Linked DNA regions of Homo sapiens: region 2 is linked to region 1. Evidence: promoter capture Hi-C in human tissues and cell types (Jung and others, 2019). All regions are on one chromosome and are shown on one strand. Each heading gives the region's core, a stretch centred on a gene start or on the middle of the fragment in contact. The rest is flanking DNA. Distances are from core to core; before and after follow the strand shown.

Region 1 (3,429 bases), core at 428-2,927:
CCACTTCAGCCTCTGATTGGTTGACGAAAGCAACCAATCAGACTAATTGTGCGTCACCACTTCATTTACATGAGAAACCTCCAGGGGGTATTTGGACCTCAGAAGATTCTGCATCCGGAACCTTGAGCCACCGCTGGGGCCGCTTCCATACTGTGGAGTGTACTTTCATTCTCAATAAATCCCTGCTTTCTTCTTTCCTTGCTTTGCTGGGCGTTTGGTCCAATTGTTTGTTCAAAATGCCAAGAACTTGGACGACTTGCAGTCAAGACCCTCTAATGGTAACAACAACACCGTGACAGAGCTTTTACTAAAGGGCTGAATTAAAGATTACACTATAAAAGGGGAACACTGTAAAGCTGTCAGCTAAACTAGTCTTTCCTCCACAGTTCGTGAGGAAGGAACCTAATTTATACATTCAACAAATTTATGCCAGCTGTTCTCTGATGTGCCCAAGGCAGATAAAATCTATCCATGGAGGTTTCATTTCAGTGAGAGGGAGATATACAAGAAATAAGTAAACACCTACATTGCCAACATAATTAGAGATGGAGGAGGAAAATAACAGGGTGGAACTTCTGACAGCTCTCCTGGGAAGGTCTCTGTGGAAGTGATGTATTTGAGCTGAGACCTGAAGGAAGGGAAGGAGTTGGCCGAAAAGGTAGAATAGAATTGCAGAAAGAGATCAAGGGGAGCTCTTCCCAGGGGTCCCCTGCCCTCATATTGCCTGTCTTCACTGGTGTCACCTAATCTCCTACTGCTCATAACCTGGCTACCTATCTTTCACTATCTTTCAGGACAACTCAGCCCTATGCATAGGGATGGGTTCCCCCCAAGCAGGGACTGCTTCAGAGTCCAGGCAACATCTAGTTACATCCCTGGATGATGGGTCTTGTTTGAGTGAATTGTTTTCACCACCAGACTGTGAAGGCTTCCCATTCAGGACCCTGGTGTTCATCCCCATTGTCTGGGAACTCTACCCTGTTTCTTTCTTTCTTTTCTTTTTTTTTTTTTTTTTTTGAGACAGAGTCTCGCTCTGTTGCTCAAGCTGGAGTGCAGTGGCGCGATCTCGGATCCCAGGTTCAAGTGATTCTCCTGCCTCAGCTTCCCGAGTTTCTGGGACTACAGGCGCACGCCACCACGCCCAGCTAATTTTTTTTTGTATTTTTAGTAGAGACAGGGTTTCACCACGTTGGCCAGGATGGTCTCGATCTCTTGACCTCGTGATACACCCGCCTCGGCCTCCCAAAGTGCTGGGATTACAGGCATAAGCCACCGCGCCCGGTCCCCTGTTTCTTTAATTACTGTTACTGAAAGGCATAGCCTTTGAATGAGTTATTAATCCAAAATCTTTTGTTTTCCATTCTTGCTCTAGTCACAGCTTATTTTTCCAGACCATACTGTTCTAAGCCTCAATTACATTAAGGCCAGGAGGCCACCGAAGAACTCCACATGCCACTGCACTGGCGGGTGGAGCAAGTCAAGCAGGGCAGCTCATGAACGCCCGGGAGTCCAGGAGGCCCGGGTGGGGACGCCTGGATGACGTCACTCGAGGTGGGCAGGCCCCGCGCGGGGCGTGACGTCACGCGGGCGGTCCCGTCAGCCGTGAGGTCACCTGGTGGGCGCGGCCAGGCCGAATCCCCAGTGTCGTCACGGGAGGGGGCGGGCCCAGAGCGTGTCAGTGCAGCCGAATCAAAACAAGCCGGAGACCCGCCTTTTCCCTCCGGCTCGGGAGCGTCTCGCTTGCGCCCCGGGCCCGCGGCGCCCGCGCGGCTGCGAGCCTCGGGTGGCCGCGTGCCGGCTCCAGGAAGCCGGAGAGGGCGCGGCGGCCAGGATGGCGCGGCACGGGCCGTGCGGCTAGACGGGAGCCGAGGGAACCGCCGGCTCGCGCCCTCCGTTCTTTCCCGGAGCCGGCTTCACGCAGGGCCGGGAACGGCCGTGCCTCTGGGATCCGCCTTCGCTGACGCCGGGCACCTACCTGGACGCGAGCGAGCGAGATGCCCAACCCCAAAAACAGCAAAGGCGGCCGCAAAAACAAGCGCGCCAACAGCAGCGGCGACGAGCAGGAAAATGGAGCCGGGGCCCTGGCAGCGGCGGGCGCGGCGGGAGCGGCGGCCGGGGGGGCCCTGGCGGCGGCGGCCGGTTGCGGGGCGGCGGCGGCGGGCGCGCCGGGCGCCGGAGGCGCGGCGGGCGCCGGAGGCGCGGGGACTGGCGCCGCGAACGCTGCGGCCGCCGCGGGGGCTGCGGCCGCGGGCGATGCCAAAAACGGTAAGACGGGGCTGGCGGGGCGAGCGCCAACTTCCTCCCCGACGGGGACGGCGCGGTGGCGGGGCCCTGGGTGGCGCGGGCGGTGCGTGGACAATGCGAGAGTCAGGAAGTGCTCACCCCGCCCCTCCGCCCCGCCGCGGCTGCCCCTTCGCGGTCCCCACGCCTGGCGGCGGGGACAGATCTGCGGCCCCTGCCCGGTGTCCGCGCGGGGGGCAGCCCGCGCCCCACACTCTGAGGGGCTCCCGGCTGCGGCAGCGCTGCCCTCGGGCCCAGCCTGCTGCCCGCGCTGGCACTGCCCCGCCGTGTGTGCCGGGCCGAAGGGAGGAAGGAAGGGAGGAAAGAGCCGCCCAAGTTGAGAAGAATGATCCGATTGAAAACTTAGGCACCGGTTAATTCTTCCCGGTGCTCCAAGGCCACCCGTAACCCCCGGAATGAAGGAGAGAGAGCCTCAATTCTTAGCACACCCAGGCTTGCTGCGTCGATCGCCACAGGTGAAGAGGCCTCGAGACATTTAGGGCCTCTGTGTTTGCTCTTTAATTTTTTGGCTTGCTTGAGGAAGGAAGAGAATCTGAACTTGACTTCCGTTCTCAGCCCGGAGTTAAAAAAAAAAAAAAAAAAAGAAAAGAAAGAAAAGAAAAATCATTCTCTATGTCATTGTGCTTAACATTTTCAGAAGGAAGCCTCATAATCTTAGGTAGTGCCTGAATGTTCCTTTTGAGGGGACACTTAGGAACTGGCCCAGATGTGACAGGATTTCTGTTCTCATTACAGAGCCATGGTTTTCGTTATAAGGTGCTGGGCAAACACTTACTTATTTGGACAGTTCTTTGAATTCCTCTAGTCAGGCACTTTTTCCAGGAAGACAACGTAGGTATTTTAATGAAGGGAGATTTGAATTGTTATATCTGGCTTTTAATTTATAGCGTCAGCTTTTGAAGCCATTCTTTATGTAGATCAGGCACTTTTTTGTTTTGTTTTTTTTTTTTTAGACGGAGTTTGCAATTTCGCCCAGGCTGGAGCGTAGTGGCGCAATCTCGGCTCACTGCAACCACCGTCTTCCGGTCTGAAGCGATTCTCCTGCCTCAGCCTCCCGAGTAGCTGGGATTACAGGCGCCCGCCACCACGCCCGGCTAATTTTTGTTATTTTTAGTAGAGACAGGGTTT
Region 2 (3,292 bases), core at 461-2,960, 1.6 Mb after region 1:
AATGGGGTATTCCAACTGATCTCATACAAATGGAATTTATTCTGTGAATTATTACACAACCAAGTGAGATTTATTTCATGTATGCACAGCTGACTCAATTAAAAAATTTAAAAATACAAACAATTAATACATAAAATCTACTATATCTACAGGCTGTTGAAGGAATAACATATGACCACTTCAATTGACTCACAAAAAGCAACACCCATTGACAAAATCTAACACCCATTTAGGATAAAAATTTTTGGCCAATTAGTAATAGAGTGGAACTTCTTTGAATTAATAATGAACATCTACAAAATACTAGAGCTAACAATATAGTTAATGGTGATGTTACCAAAACAACAGGGGTTTGGTCAAGGTCCTGCCAGTTGTTGCACAGAAAGCCAATCACTAATACAATGAGTAATGCCAAGGAAGAAGGCCTTAATTGGTTGTTGCAGCTGAGGATATAGGGCCTCAGTTTCAAATCCGTTTCTCCGACCTACTAAAACTATGGTTTTTTGTAGCAGGGAAAAAATATAATGATATGTAAGAAAGCAGAAACTAGGGAGGTCAAGGAAGCAATCATGATGAATAGGGGTCCAGCATTTCATTGTCTGAATGTGGTGATCTGGTGAGTTTCAGTTCTTTAATACTTTTTGTGAGAGGCCTGAACATCATTTCCTGAGGAAGGAATTAATATAAAACAAATGCAAGGTTCAAGCTTTAAGACCACAGTGGTCAATTTCTATGTTTATCCATATCTATGGGACTATTGGGCCAGTTTCAGTGACAGATTAGATACTTTCCTTCTAAGATCAGGAATAAGTCAAGAGCATCCTCCCTTATAATTCCAATTTAACATCATTCTAGAAGTTCTTGCTAGTGCAATAACAAAATGAAATTAAATATATACAGTTTGGTGATATGACCTGAATGTTTGTGTCTCCTCATATCTCCAAATTCTAATGCTGAAGTCATCACTCCCAAGGTGATAGTATTAACCTTGAGAGGTAAATCCTTTGGGAGGTGATTAAGTCATGGGTATGGAGCCCTCATAATTGAGATCTTCATGCCTTTATAAAAAAGGTGCAAGAGAGATCCCTTTTCTTTCACCATGTAATGTTAGAGTGAGAAGAAGGCTATCTATGAGAATGTGAACCCTCACCAGACACTGAGCCTAATGGGTCTTTGATCTTGGACTTCCCAGAACTGATGAAAAATAAATTTCCTTTATTCATAAGTCACCCAGACTGTGGTATTTTCTTATAACAGCCAAAGTAGACCTAGACAGTTGGAAAGGAAGAAATGAAACTGCCTTATATACAGTTGAAATAATTGTCTATGTAGACAACACCAAATACTCTACAAAAGCCTCCCAGGATTAATAAGCAAGTTTGTGGAATATAAGTCCATATTCAAAAATTTCCCTATATATTATCAATAAGGTATTAAACTATTGACATTTTTAACTAAAAAAAAAACTATTTACAATAACTTCCAAAAAGGGAGTATCTAGGCATAAATTTAACAAAATATTGTCTAAGTTCCCTATTCATAAAACTAAAAAAACAAATAAAAGATGTAAATAAGTGGAGTGATGCTCTGTGTTCATAATTATTACCATATGATGAAAATGTCAATTCTTCTCTAACTGATGCACAAATTTAACACAATACCTGCCAAAATCCCAGAAAGTGACTTTGTCAATATTGACAAGTTACTTTTCAATGTTATATAGAAAGGCACAGTACTTAGCATAGCCAACATAATACTTCAGAAGAACAAAGTTGGAGGACTCACATTGTCCTATTTCAACCATTTACTGCAAATCTATGGTAATCAAGAGAGTATCATATTGATGCAAAAATAGACACTTAGGTCAATGGAACAAAACAGAGAGCTCAGAGATAGATTCACAGATAGGGAGCTCAGAGATAGATTCACAGAAATATAGTCAACTGATTTTTTTGATGAAGGCATGGAAGCAATTCAAAGGTAAAAGGAAAGTCTTTTCACTAAATGATGCTGGAACAATTGAATTTCCATATGCAAAGATATCAACCTAGGCCTATATCTTACATGTTACACAAATTTTATGTCAAAATGGATTATAGAACTAAATGAAATGTGAAAATATAAAAGTTCTAGAATGAAAAATTAAGAAAAATACCTATGTGGTTGGGTTTGGTAAATAACTTTTAGATACACCGTCAAGATCCTTGAAAAAAAATAGTCAATTTGAGTTGCACTTTTCTGTATTAGTCTATTTTTGCATTGCTATAAAGAAATACCTGAAACTGGAAAATTTTTAAAGAAAAAAGATTTCTGCAGTCTGTACAGGAAGAAGCATAGTGGCTCCTGCTTGGCTTTCTGGAAAGGCCTCAACAAACTCACAATCATGGTAAAAGGCAAAGAGGAAGCAGGCATGTCTTACATGGCCAGAGCATGAGGAAGAAAGAGGGGGGAAGGTGCTGCACACTTTTAAATAACCAGATCTCATGAGAAATCATTCTTTATACAGTACTAATGGGGATGGTACTAAACTATTCAAGAGAACTCTGCCCCCATGATCCAATCATCTCCTACCAGGCCCCACCTCCAATACTGAGGATTAATTACAATTTGACATGAGCTTTAAACTGGGTGACAGATCCAAATCATATCATTTACTAAAATTAAAAAGCTACTGTTAAGAAAAAAAAATCCTACCTTGTGAAGATACAAAGAAATTGTAAGACTCTACAATGATAAATTAGATAACTTGTGCTAGTTTTTTTGTTTCTGTTGTAACAAATTATCAAAAACTTAGTCACTGCTATAGTTTGGATGTTTGTCTGCCAAACTCCATGTTGAAATTTGATCTTCAAAGTTGGAGGTAGGGTGTAATGGCAGGTGTTTGGGTTTTGAGGGCAAATCCCTCTGAATGGCTTGGTGCCATTCTAGTAGTTAATAGCTTCCTCTCTTATCATGTGATCTCTTCACACACAGGCTCCCCTTTACCTTTCACCATGAGTAGAAGCAACCCGAGGCCCTTACCGGAAGCAGATGACGCCAGCCTCATGCCCCTTATAGGCCCCTCAAGCCTGCAGAACCATGAGCCAAATAAACCTATTTCCTTTATAAGTTACCCTGCCTCCAGTATTTCTTTATAGCAACACAAATGAACTAAGACAGTGACTTAAAACAATAAAAATTTATCTTACATTTTGAGAGATCACAAGTTCAAAAATGGCCAGCAGGTATGCATTCCTTCTGGAAGCTCTAGGGGAGAAGCTATTTCCTTCCCTTTTTGAGCTTCTAGAGGCTA

Evidence for each region. Contacts are between HindIII fragments. The study calls those that stand out against the background at their distance.
Region 2: a fragment that was not itself captured here is called in contact with the fragment with the promoter of HECA in region 1 in 1 of the 25 tissues and cell types used here (thymus).

The regions. Positions count from the first base shown.
Region 1 is chr6:139,133,403-139,136,831 of GRCh38, forward strand. HECA (hdc homolog, cell cycle regulator) reads left to right here and starts at 1,678. Exons shown (of 4, transcript NM_016217.3): 1 at 1,678-2,265. The coding sequence starts at 1,995. RefSeq lists enhancers at 142-191, 1,470-1,764, 2,630-2,749 and silencers at 1,470-1,659, 1,770-1,849, 2,250-2,519. The HindIII fragment of the contact is 7,882 bases long and covers 1-3,429 here.
Region 2 is chr6:140,725,936-140,729,227 of GRCh38, forward strand. All of the region lies in intron 4 of LOC105378027 (a long non-coding RNA gene), which reads left to right. Among named protein-coding and RNA genes, the nearest start is that of MIR4465, 44 kb to the left of the region's middle. The HindIII fragment of the contact is 8,741 bases long and covers 1-3,292 here.